3 separate regions of the Homo sapiens genome follow, and regions 1 and 3 are each linked to region 2. Evidence: promoter capture Hi-C in human tissues and cell types (Jung and others, 2019). All regions are on one chromosome and are shown on one strand. Each heading gives the region's core, a stretch centred on a gene start or on the middle of the fragment in contact. The rest is flanking DNA. Distances are from core to core; before and after follow the strand shown. Region 1 overlaps ACER3 (alkaline ceramidase 3). Region 2 holds the start of TSKU (tsukushi, small leucine rich proteoglycan). Region 3 overlaps ACER3 (alkaline ceramidase 3).

What was found. Contacts are between HindIII fragments. The study calls those that stand out against the background at their distance.
Region 1: a contact is called between a fragment that was not itself captured here and the fragment with the promoter of TSKU in region 2, in 2 of the 25 tissues and cell types used here (dorsolateral prefrontal cortex and mesendoderm cells).
Region 3: a contact is called between a fragment that was not itself captured here and the fragment with the promoter of TSKU in region 2, in 2 of the 25 tissues and cell types used here (spleen and thymus).

What each region holds. Positions count from the first base shown.
Region 1 is chr11:76,875,214-76,879,364 of GRCh38, forward strand. The region is part of intron 1 of ACER3 (alkaline ceramidase 3); the gene reads left to right. Among named protein-coding and RNA genes, the nearest start is that of ACER3, 16 kb to the left of the region's middle. The HindIII fragment of the contact is 5,570 bases long and covers 1-4,151 here.
Region 2 is chr11:76,781,701-76,785,773 of GRCh38, forward strand. TSKU (tsukushi, small leucine rich proteoglycan) reads left to right here and starts at 1,656. Exons shown (of 2, transcript NM_015516.4): 1 at 1,656-1,704. It overlaps TSKU-AS1 (TSKU antisense RNA 1), which reads right to left and starts at 1,362. Exons shown (of 2, transcript NR_120562.1): 1 at 1,303-1,362; 2 at 881-1,156. RefSeq lists enhancers at 893-1,082, 1,317-1,961 and a silencer at 1,513-1,602. The HindIII fragment of the contact is 14,629 bases long and covers 1-4,073 here.
Region 3 is chr11:76,891,861-76,895,959 of GRCh38, forward strand. All of the region lies in intron 1 of ACER3 (alkaline ceramidase 3), which reads left to right. Among named protein-coding and RNA genes, the nearest start is that of ACER3, 33 kb to the left of the region's middle. The HindIII fragment of the contact is 4,899 bases long and covers 1-4,099 here.

The DNA of each region.
Region 1 (4,151 bases), core at 489-2,988, 94 kb after region 2:
AGTGATTCTTGTGCCTCAGCCTCCCTAGTAGCTGGGATTACAGGCGCAGGCCACTACACCGGGCTAATTTTCGTATTTTTAGTAGAGATGGGGTTTCACTATGTTGGCCAGACTGGTCTCGATCTCCTTACCTCGTGATCCATCCACCTCAGCCTCCCAAAGTGCTGGGATTACATAAAGGCGTGAGCCACCGCGCCCGGCCAACATTTCATTTTTTTAAGATGAAATTTTTATGCATACAACAAAGTTGGAAGAATTCTTCAGTGAATATCCATTCACCCACTATCTCAATTCTACCATTAACATTTTATTACACTTGTTTTTATCACATACCGATTCATTTTTCCATTCCTTTCTCCATCCATCAGTTCATTTTATTTTTTGATACATTTCGAAGTAAACTGCAGACATCTGTTTGCTTTCCTCTAAATACTAAAGCATATCATTAAAGTTTAATTCCTTGTTTTTTTTTTCTTTTGATGTAAAATTTACATTCAATGTAATACACAGTTTTTGTTGTTTTTTTTTTTTTTTTTTTTTTTTGTGGAGTCTCACTGTGTTGCCGAGGCTGGAGTGCAGTGGCATGATCTCAGCTCACTGCAACCTCCCCGTCCCAGGTTCAAACGATTCTCCTGCCTCAGCTTCCCAAGTAGCTGGGATTATAGGAGAGCACCACCACACCCGGCTAATTTTTGTATTATTAGTAGAGACAGGGGATTACAGGCACGTGCCACCACACCCAGTTAATTTTTTCATTTTTTTGTAGAGACATGGTTTCACCATATTGGCCAGGATGGTCTTGAACTCCTGACCTCAGGTGATCCACCCACCTCAGCCTCCCAAAGTGCTGGGATTACAGGCATGAGCCACCACGCCCAGCCTGTAATACACAAATCTTAAGTTATTTTTGCTGGATTTTGAGAAATGCATACACCTATGTAACAACCTCTATCAAGATGTGGAACTTTACCATCAGCCAGGAAAGTTCCCTCATGCCCCTTCTCTGTTAATCCCCACCTCCATCTTACCCCTTCTTTCCAGCACAACCACTGTTCTGATTTTTTTTTTTTCCCTACCATAGATTAGGTTTGCCTGTTCTAGAACTGCATAGAAATGGACTTGTCTAGTATTTACTATTTCGGGTAAGGCTTCTTTTGTTCAGCATGTTTTTGAGATTCATCCATATTGCTATGTGGTAGGATTCCACTGTATGAATATACCAGTTTATTAACCCATTTTCCTGTTGATGGACACATGGCTGTTTTTAGGTGTGGACAATTATAAGTAAAGCTGCTATAAACATTCTTGGGCAGATCATTTTGTGGATATATATTTTCGTTTCTCATAGGTAAATGCTTAGGATTGGAATAATTGGGTCATAGAGTATGTGTATGTTTAGTTTTATTAGATACTGCTAGACCTTTTCCCAAAGTGGTTGTACCATTTTACACACAGAGCATTTGATCCACATCCTTGTCAACATTTAGTGTCAATTTTTCAAATTTTAGTCATTCTGGTGGATGTGTGGTTGTATCTCATTGTGCTATCCAGTTTATTTTTAACTCTTGTCTTCTTTCGTTTCCTTGCCCTACTTACATTTCAGTCTTGCCAAAACAAGCTATTTACATATACATTAATACCCTGTGCACTTTTTATTGTTCATATTGTTCCCATGAGAGGTAATAATAAATTTGTTTTAAAATCATGAAGTTTGTGATGGTTATTCAGCAATAAATAACTGAAAACTGTGTCTGAAGTTGAGTTTTGAGAAATTTTGATTTTCTGTTGTGAAAACTCAGAGTATGTCATATTATACCATGCCTTTTATTCTTAGAAGATGAGACTAAAGAATAAAGATTAGTACTTTTATAAGCCCATCTGAAGATTTCAAAAAATTTTATAAGCATCATTTTATTTATACCTGCAATGTACTCAAGACTCCAAAGAGTTATTTTACCCAATGAAAGCAAGTAAGTACCTCAGGGTTGAAATAATTCAGTTTTGAAGCTGGAAAAAAAATCTTTGACTCATCATAGGTGTAGACTCTCGCTCTAACATATGTTCTTTAACTTTTCAGAGCATGCAGCTTTTAACAGCAAGTAGAAGGACTGGCTAGAGTCAGAACTCCAAAACTATGCATGTTAAAATCTTGATGCTGCTATAAAAGCTGTGTTTTTATGATCTTCACTCACTTATTCATTTATACAAAATGATAAGGAGAGATTCTAGATAAGATACTTTTCCTGAAATGAAACATTATGGTTTCTAAGCTATTTCACCTTCTGAGTAGCAATTTTTCCTTTTTTTCCCCCCCATTTCTTTTTTTAAGCAGATATGAGGGCAATCTGTCTTTGTCTCCTGAAATCCCATTGATCACTAGAGTTGATCTAATTAATCTTGTCAATCAGATGGCTGTTTTGTGTTCAGAAAGTCCAACCTAAAGGTTGACAAATGAAGAGAATTATGACCTTGATAAAGGAGGACAGTCCTTTGGTTAAGAGCAGTCATCATTGAAGAAACATTTAGCACCCTCTGTGTCCTTCCCTGATCCCATCTTCTTCCTTTTCCTCTGGAGATAACCAGTATACTTAATTTAGTGTTTATCATTTCCTAGCTTTTACCACTTTGCATTCCTAAAAATAAACTGTTCAGGTTTGCTTGTTTTATATTTTATATAAGTGGAATTGTACTATATGTACATTCTTCCACAGCTTGCTTTTTTTTTTTAAACACAAATTGTGCTTATTAGTATCATTCATGCTCCTGAGAATTGACTGTGTTGATGGATGTAGATATAATTCATTTATTTTTGCTGTTGTTTAGAATTCCACTGTATGAATACATTCATTTATCCATTCTTTAATCATTGGACATTTTGTTGTTTCCAGGTTTTTGCTGTTACAGATAAGGCTGCTGTGAACATTCTTGTGCATCTTCTGGTACACAGAAATGTAAGGGTTTCTGTGTATACTTAGGAGTGTAATTGTTAGAATATAGGTCATGCTCATATTCAACTTTAACTATTAGGTTGGTGCAAAAGTAATTGCGGTTTTTGCCATTACTTTCAATGGCAAAACCCTCAATTACTTTTGCAATGACCTAATAGAAATTCTCGAATTTTTTGGTCTCATGACCCCTTTACACATTTAAAAATTATTGAAGACCCCAAAGAGCTCTGTGAGTTAAATCTATTGGTATTTACTGTATTAGAAGTTAAAACTGAAAAAAGTTAAATCTTTATTAATCCATTTAAGATTCGTATTTTTGAGAAATGAGATTTTTCTATGTGTTGTATCAGTAGTATGTTTCTTTTGATTGCTGAGTGGTATCCCACTGTATGAATGTAATAGTTTATCTGTTTTCCTATTGACAGATACCTGGGCTGTTCCCAGTTTTTGGCTATTATGCATGAAGTTGAACATTCTTATACAAGTCTTTTTGTGAATGTATATTTTCATTTTTCTTGAATAAATATCTAGGATTGGAATTGCCAGGTTAGGGTTGGTTTATGTTTAGTTTTCTAAGAGCCTGTAAGACTTTTTCTCCACAGTGATGTATCATTTTTCATTCTCATCATGGAAGTTTTAGGTGCTCCACATCCCCAACAATGTTTGGTGTTATCATGCTTCTTAATTTTATCCATTCTGGAGTGTGTGTAGTGGTATCTCATTGTAATTTTAATTAGCATTTACCTGATGTCTGAGGATGTTGAGCATATTTTCTTGTGCTTCTTGGTCATCTGTATATCTTCTTTTGTGAAGTATCTTTTCAAATCTTTTGCCCATTTAAAAAAATTGGATTGTCTTTTTATCATTGAGTAATAGGGGCTCCTTTCATATCCAGAATATAAGTCCATTTGCCAAATGGATGTTTTGTGACTGTTTTCTCCCTGTCTCCCTACTTCATTTTTTAAAGGTGTTTTTTTGATGAGAAGTAGTACATTTTGATGAAGTCTAATTGATCAGCTTTTTCTCTTATGGTTATTGCTTTTCATAGCTTGTCTATTACCATATTTTCTTCTGGAAGCTTTATAGTTAATTGCTTTATATTCAGGTCTATATCCATCTCAGATTTATTGTCACATATGGTGTAAGGTAGGGATTGAAGTTTATTTTTTCCTAATAGGCATATCCAGTTATTTTAGCATCATT
Region 2 (4,073 bases), core at 406-2,905:
GGAAATGGGAGGGGCCCGACTCCTCTCTATGGGTCCCAGGGGTTGTGGAGTTGAATCCCTGCAGCCCTTTTAAGCCCAACAGTGAGGAAGACACTGGATACCAAAGGGCCCATGGTGCCATCCCAAAGACTGATAAGGAGTGTGAGCTGGATGATCACAGAAGGACTCCTAGTTCTGAAAGCTGGGATTCTAATCAGGAGAGGACAATGAATGGAGAGGAGAGACGGGAGTTCTCCCTGCTTCCACACATATGAGACCAGGCTCCTAGCCTTTTCTCTGCACATTCCTAACTGGCAGGGTCCACAGGTGTCAACCCAAGTGCATCCCCAAGACCACACAATGGCTCTGAGTGCAGAAAGGACCTGCAAGACCAGTTTGTTTTCTGGGCAGCAGATGATTTTGCTGGCCTGAGGCCTGGGGCAGTGGTCTCCACTCCTACCTCACCACCTCTCTAGTGTCTTCCTTCTTCCCCAAGTAGACCGGCATGCATGCACACACAGGCCCAAGCAACTCCTTTTTTTTTTTTTTTTTTTAATGAATAAGAAAAAGTAATAAGGAAAGAAGCAGCAAGCAGACTGGGTGTGTTAACAAGTCTGGGCCACTGCAGGAGGTACATTGCCCAATTTCTGCACCCCGAGGCCCTCCAAAGTCTAGGAGAAGCTCCTGGGAGGTCCAGGGCCCAAGACCAAAGCCTCTATCAACTCTCCCACCTGTGAACTGCCCCTCTCCCAAGGTAGGCATTGTCGGGGTGTGTAGACTGGGAGCCACCCACACACCTGACTCTCCCCTCCTAGGAAATGCGTCCACCAGGTCATTTCTCCTGCAAACCCTCATTTTAAAGTGTCTTGGATGCTTTCCTGCCCTTTTTTTTTTTTTTTAACATAAAGAGGGGTGAGAGCCCAAGAGCTACAGCAGGGGGAATAGACTGAAACTGCTGCCTACTCACACGCCAGTTTCCCTTCTTAGAACTCTAACCAGAAGCCAATGGTTTCCTCCTAAAAGAAAAACTCAATCTGTTGACTTTCTCTCTCCTCTCCTGCCAGCTTTTCTGCCCGAGCCGGGCTCTCTCTTCTCTGTGGGTTCGTCTTTCAGCCAGTCTTTCTCTGCTTCAGATTCTTGGTTTCTTGCTCCCGGTAGTCCCTGAACCTCTTTCACTCTTTAAAAAAAAATGGGGAGGGGCGGTGAACAAGCAAAGAGGAAGCCCTCACCCACCCACCAAATCTCTTTCTTACTAGCAACTAATTCCCTCTCTCTTTCCACACACACAGTCATACACACACATACACATACACAGGCACGTACTCCGGCGACCTCCAGATGTTCCCGACAGTGCGGCCATCTGCTTAGATTGCTGGGGCGCGCAGGGGGAGGGGGCAGGGATCCGGGATGCAGGAAGCTGTGAGCGAGGCCAACTAGAGGGGGCGGGAGCAGCGCACTTTTGAGACGCTCCCTAGAGTGGAACCCGGGCTCGGCTCAGGCTCCGCGGGCGGGGCGCGCGCCGAGAGAGGCTGGCACTTTGGCGACACTCCCTGAGCCGCCCCGCGGCCGGCCCGAGCCGCCACCCGGCGCCCGGCAGGGGGGAGCCTGGCTGCGGGCGGGGACCGGGGGGCGGGCCGCGCCGCGCGGAGAAAAGCGCTGGCCGGAGGGCCCGCGGCCGGGCCGCCGGGGTGAGCGTGCCGAGGCGGCTGTGGCGCAGGCTTCCAGGTGAGTGCAGTTCCCCGGGCGGGGCGAGAGTCCGCGCTGCGGTTGAAGATCCCAAGTCCCCGATCCTAGCCTCGCGGCCCCTTCGGAGGGCGGGCTGGGGACGCCGGGCGCAGGGGCGGGGCTGGGTCCCGCCGAGGCCCCTCAACTTTCGTCGGACGCCTAGGGCTGGGCGGGAGTGGGGAACGCCGACCCAGGGGAGAGGTCTTGCGGGAGACAAAGGCTACGCCCAGGGGCCGTGTGGGTCTTTGTGCGGACACGTGCATCTCACGTTTGTGGGTCTTTGTGGATTTGCGGTCGGGGACGCGCCGCTGTCGGTGCCTTTGTGTGTCCGTGGCTTTGCGCGGCTGCTTTGCGCCCGTGTCCACGTTTGCGGGCCTGCGCTTGGCTGTGGGCGTCGGTGGGCGCATCGCGTGTCTCCGCGTACGTGGTCGGTGCCTGCCGACGTGTCTGGGCTGGGTGTCCGCAGAGGGTGTGCGCACCGAGAGCCCAACGCCGCCCCACCCCCCCGCTCCCCCGCCGTCCCCTCGGGCCCACGACTTGGCTCCAAACTTTTCTCCCGGTTCCTCGGGCAACAGCCCCAGTCCTCCCCACCGCTACCCGGCCGGGGGCGCAGACAGCCCTCCCCCTCCCCCTCCTGAGGTCCCAGGACAGCAAGGGGCTGCGACGGGATTGGTGGTCGGGGGATCGGCAGCGCCTGGGGACTGGCTGGGCAGGGGCTGGGCGGAGCGTGCGGACTCCCCCTCAGACCCCGGCTGGGAGGAAGAGGCGAGCGGTGGGTCCCAGGCTCCGGCCCTGGGCTGGGGAGAGGAAGGGACAGGGCGGCTGGCGTTGCCCTCCCCGCGCTTCTTGGAAAGAGTGTGATCCAGAGTTGCGTCTGTTTGGTAGGGAGACAGGCTCCGCTTTGAGACCCACTCTCCGTTTGCAGCCCGCCCCCGGGGTAGGGGGCCAACCCTCGGACCCGGTAGGGGAGAGGGGGACTGCCAGTCCAGATCTGGGCATGCCCGAGGCGCCGGCTCACAGGACCCGGAGCTGGGCTGGGGGCCGTGGGAGCCTCACATACACAGGTTTCAACTGGGACGGCCACTGGCCCCTGTGCGGCGCTGGCAAGTTGCTCAGCTTCGCGGAGTCGCGGTCACTCTGGCACGGACAGGGCGAGAACTCCCTCGCGGCTCGGGGCGTGCGGTGGGAATAACCCGCGCCTCTGGAGCCGGGCGGAGAGCAGCGCCAGCCCACACTTGGCCTGGCGAGGAGGTGACTCAAGACCTTCGATTCTTCTTTCATCTTTGTGCGCCCTGCCCTTCGGATAAGTCTAGACTTGCAGTGCCTGGGGCTGACCGGAGGTGGGGGGGGGGGGGTGCTCAGAGCTGCAGGAGCCTGCTGGGCTTTTGAGCCTAAGTCGCAAAGATAACCGTAAACACCCTCCTCCCCACTGCTCACTCCAGTCTTTAACCTAGAACTTTGTCGGATGCTGCAGACATGATGGAAGGGCACAGGCCGCTAACCTGGGAAAGAAACAACTGTGGGCATTTTCCTTTCCCTCTCCGGCCTCAGTTTCCCTTCTGGAAGGGGAGGTATTGATAGCCTCTTCTGTTCTGGCTGACTGCTTCAGATCCCAGAACCCAGAAACACTTTGATGTTTAACCTACACCTCCATTCTGACCTGACCTATTCCGAGGCACTACTTTGCTCCCCAGGAAGGCTGCAATGCAACCGCCACCGGGCTTCCACCTACCCTTCCTCCAACACCAGGAAAGGCAAAAGCTGATAAATGAGTCAAAAATGGAGAGGGAAGGGAGGGGGATTGACCTTTTCTCCTCTTACTTTTTAAATGACAGTTTGTGGTGGTAAAGTCCAGATCAGTCTTCTTCTTAATCATAACTCCTGGGTCAACACAGGGGATGCAGTTAAGAGTTCATGCTTCAGTTTTCAGAGCAAGGCTGGCCTGGGCACTGAGGACACTTCCTAAAGAGGGTTGGGTCCTCCCTGAAAGCCACCTGGCCAAAACAAGTCCTAAGAGGGGTTCTGTGGGAATAACCCGGAGAAGGGGCCTGACAGGAGATTCCTCCTGCTCATGGTTTTGAAGTCAGTGGGTACACAGGGGAGGCAGGAAGAATCTCCCACAAAAGGATCAGCATGTGCAGGACCTGTGCATGAAAACAGCACAGGTGGTCAGCATGGTGGACCAGCAGACGCAAGGTCTTGAGGGTGGTGAATTGGAAGTGAACTTGAGGCTGGGAAGGCAGGGACCAAATCACCAAGGCCTTGAATGTCAGGCCGAGAAGGGGGATTTGAGCCTGTAGGCAATGGAGAGCTCCTGGAGGATTTAAACAGGCACAGCAGGGTGCGGTTGGTAATTCTATGAAACCCGT
Region 3 (4,099 bases), core at 929-3,428, 110 kb after region 2:
AGTGTTGTTTTGTTCACACTTACAAGTTATAGTTGCCAGAATTATATAGTTGGATTGCCTCTTAACAATTAGTATAGACTAACACTCATGATTGTATTTCTTCTGTTTTCTTTCTTTTCCTTTGCTTTTTCAGCATGAAGGTTGTATTTCTTGTTTTCTTTTTTGTCCTTTGCTTTTTCAGCATAAACAATACAGCTTCTTGTTAAAGGGATATAACACAAGATTGAATCCAGATATTCCCATTTAGGAGCTATAATATACTGGAAAAATTTCTTAACCTCGTTGGGCCTCAAGTGTTCTAATATGTAGAATGAGAATGATATCACCCATTTTATAAGGTGATATTTTATATCAAAAGATGTTATGTAAATAAAGTCACTAGTATGGTTATAGGAATATAAACTCAATAGGTCTTGGTTCCCTTCTGCTTTATTCTTTCTTTCATTATCTACCCTGTGTTTTTTCCACTTTCATTCTCTTTATTTTTAAAAAATAAAAACCAGGTTTTAAAATAATAAATTTAGTATTTAGATTGAAGCTTAATAGGAAAGACCATGCAAATATTCCAGTTATATGTGTGTGGGGGTTTAACAACACTGCTATTTTAGTTGGATCACAGAGAAACCTCTGTTTGCTGCTGTGGCACACTTGTCTTGGCTGACTGACCCCATTTTCTCTGGTTTTCTTTAAAGCAGTTTTTTTCAGACCTTTAAAAGCTGACACTCGCTCAGTGAGTACCCTAGAAAATAATATCTTGTTCCAGTAGAACTTGGCCCAAAGGATTCTGGTAGAACTAGCATAATTCATTTGAGAGATTTGGGAATTTTTTTTAAATTTTAAAACTTTTATTTTCTAGTCTAATTTTTGTCTTACTGCTGAGGAACTTGATATAAGAAACACTGTTTAAGAAATTAAGTTAAATTAAATAAATTCAGAAAGTCTTAGCCAGAGCAATTTGTCACGAGAAAGAAAGGAATTAAAAGCATCCAAATTGACAAGGAGGAGGTCAAATTGTCCCTGTTTGTGGATGACGTGACCTTTATATAGAAAAACCTGAAGACTCTACCGAAAGCCTTTTAGAACTGATCAATAAATTCAGTAAAGTTGCAGGATATAAAATTAATATACAAAAATTAGCATCTCTATACACAAACAGTGAACTAGCTTGAAAATAAATCAAGAATGCAACCTCGTTTATATTAGCTACAAAAAATTACATAGGAATAAATTTAAGGAGGTAGAAGACCTCTGTGAGGAATACTACAGAATGCTGATGAAAGAAATTGATGAGGATACAAACAAATGGAAAGACATCCCACGCTCATGAATCAGAAGAATTAATATTGCTAAAATGACAGTACTAGCTGGGCATAGTGACACGTGCCTGTAGTCCCAGCCAGTTGGAAGGCTGAAGCAGGAGGATCACTTGAGCCCAGGAGTTCAAGGCTGCAGGGAGCTATGATCACGCCACTCTACTCCAGCCTGGGTGACCAAGCAAGACCCCATCTCTAAAAAAATAAATAAGTAAAAGAAAATAAATTTTATAATCAATATCCTTATATTTGAATCATGACTTTGCCATTTACAGGCTGTGTGATCTTATATATATTTATACAAACTACTTAATTTTGATTTTCACCTTCCTTAGCTGTCAAATTGGATTGAAAATACCTCATAGGGTGGATGTAGTAGCTCGTGCTTGTAATCCCAGCTACCAGGAAGGCTGAGGCAAAGGAATGCTTGAGCCCAGAAGTTTGAGACCAGCCTGGGCAACATAGCGAGATCCTATCTCAAAAAACAGAGAGAGAGAGAAAATACTTCATAGATTTGTTTTGAGGATCAAATTAGACAATGTAATGATTTCATACACTCTAAACTACCATATACATTTTGGTTAATGGCTTTCTTAAGAATTTGTAACATCAGATAATGCAATTAAATTCAAACTACCTTTTTTTAATCCATGAACTGAAAAGTTATTTGTTTTTCTGCTTTAAAATGTCTGTTATTTTAACTAAAACTGTGAGCTTTACCTAATGCAGTGCCTAAGCCCCACCATAGGTGTTCATTCATTTGTGGAGTGAAGGAATGAATATGTTCAACTTCTTGGCATCAGCATTATATATTGCTGTTAAAAACTAAATTACCAGCCAGGCACGGTGGCTCATGCCTATAATTCCAGCACTTTGGGAGGCTGAGGTGGAAGGATCGCTTGAGCCCAAGAGTTCAAGACCAGTTCAAGACCCTGTCTCTACAAAAAATTACAAAATTAGCTGGGCGTGGTGGTACACTCCTTTAGTCCCAGCTACTCAGGAGGCTGAGGTAGGAGGATCACTTGAGCCCAGGAGATCGAGGCTGTAGTGAGCCGTGGTTATGCCACTGCACTCAAGCCTTGGAGACAGAGCTAGACCCTGTCTCAAAAACAAACAAATACAAAACTAAGTTACCTCTTTAATAATTAGATAAATGCAGATACCATTGTGTCTTTCTTTCAATAAGCCTCGTCAGGATTCAATGGTATTACCTTAAACTCTCAAATTTACTGTAGGTATATCATAGACATGTAATTGTCACAAAAATTGGAGGCCACATAGTATAATTAATATGCTTAGACTTAGGTTTTAATCCATTTCTGCCTCTTACTGGTTGAGCAGCTGTTGGTAAGTCATTTAATCTTTGGAGCCTCAGTTTCTCTAGTAAATAGTGAGACTACTCCCTTACAAGGTTACTTTGGGAATTAAATGTTAATGGATATATTTATAAACCATAAAGTGGCATAAAATGTAGAAGTTTTTGACAAGAATATGAGCTGGGCCATATGACTGATTTTTTACATTCATGAAAGTGTATGGAAAATATTGCAAAGATGTCACAAGTTTGGATATTTGAAAGGACTGAAAGTCTCCTTAGAGAATATTTCATTTAAAGGCAAAGGAAACAGTATAACAAAAGAAGGAAGAGGACAGGCAAGCATTGAGGGTATGCAAGATAATCAAGGAGCAAACTCCCTTAGGATCTTAATCTGCATGGAGGCCTGCTTCATCTCTGGATTGAATCACCAAGATCTGTCTGATAAATTTTGGCTTCAGGATAGCTCAAGGCAGAAATTCCCAATGAGGTATTTTATGTTGCAGTGGTCATGGAGTGTTTTTTCCCCCAGTAGTTTTAATACTTTATTATTATATATTTTAAAATATATTTGGAATATAGCCTAGTGTATAATGTGGAGAAAGGATTCAATTTAATTGATCTCAAGATAATTTTTACCCAGTTGCCTCAATACCATTTACTGAATACTTCCTTTCTACTATTAATGATTTGAAATGTCAACATTATTATATACTAAATCCCATATGTTTTTGGGCAGATATTTGAACTTTCTAGCCTGTTTTATTGATATCTCTTCTATATCTCAATATCATATTGTTTTAATGATTTTATGTAACTTCATATTTGCCTCAATTATGGTTCCACTTTCTTCATTCCCCTTGTACCCAGGTTCTCTATGTCACTAGCAGGAAACACTGCACAACATATAAAGACTTTGTATTTTTGTTTAGGGCCACGAGCAGAAGGAAATAATTTTTAAATGTATTCTCTGGTACCAGGAAGAGAAAAAGTAGAAAGAGAGATATAATAGGGCTGAGGAAGGAAGTATTTAACCTACAATCAGGACACTCTGGTTTGAGTCTGCTTCTGATGCTTACTGTATACATGTAGACAAGCTAGTTGACTTTTTAGCTTCTCTATTTCCCTCATTTGCAAAATGAGGAAAATTGATTAGGTCACTGCTTCTTAAATTTTTCCACCGAAGCACCCTTAAGGGCAGAGAAAAGAAAACAAGTACCTATGTGTGAAGATGAAACTGCAAGCAGCCTGCCATAAGTAAAAAATGTTTTTTTAATATTCACGAAAGATTTTTTTGTACATTGTTTATTATAGCATTGGCTGACAGTAAAAATTGGAAATAAGCTAAATGTTGCTTAATAGACAATTTTGTAAATGAAATATGATGTGGCCTTATAATAGAATACTATATAGCCAACAAAAGGATTGAAATTATATATACTGAAAACATAATTCAGGGCTCTGGGTCCAT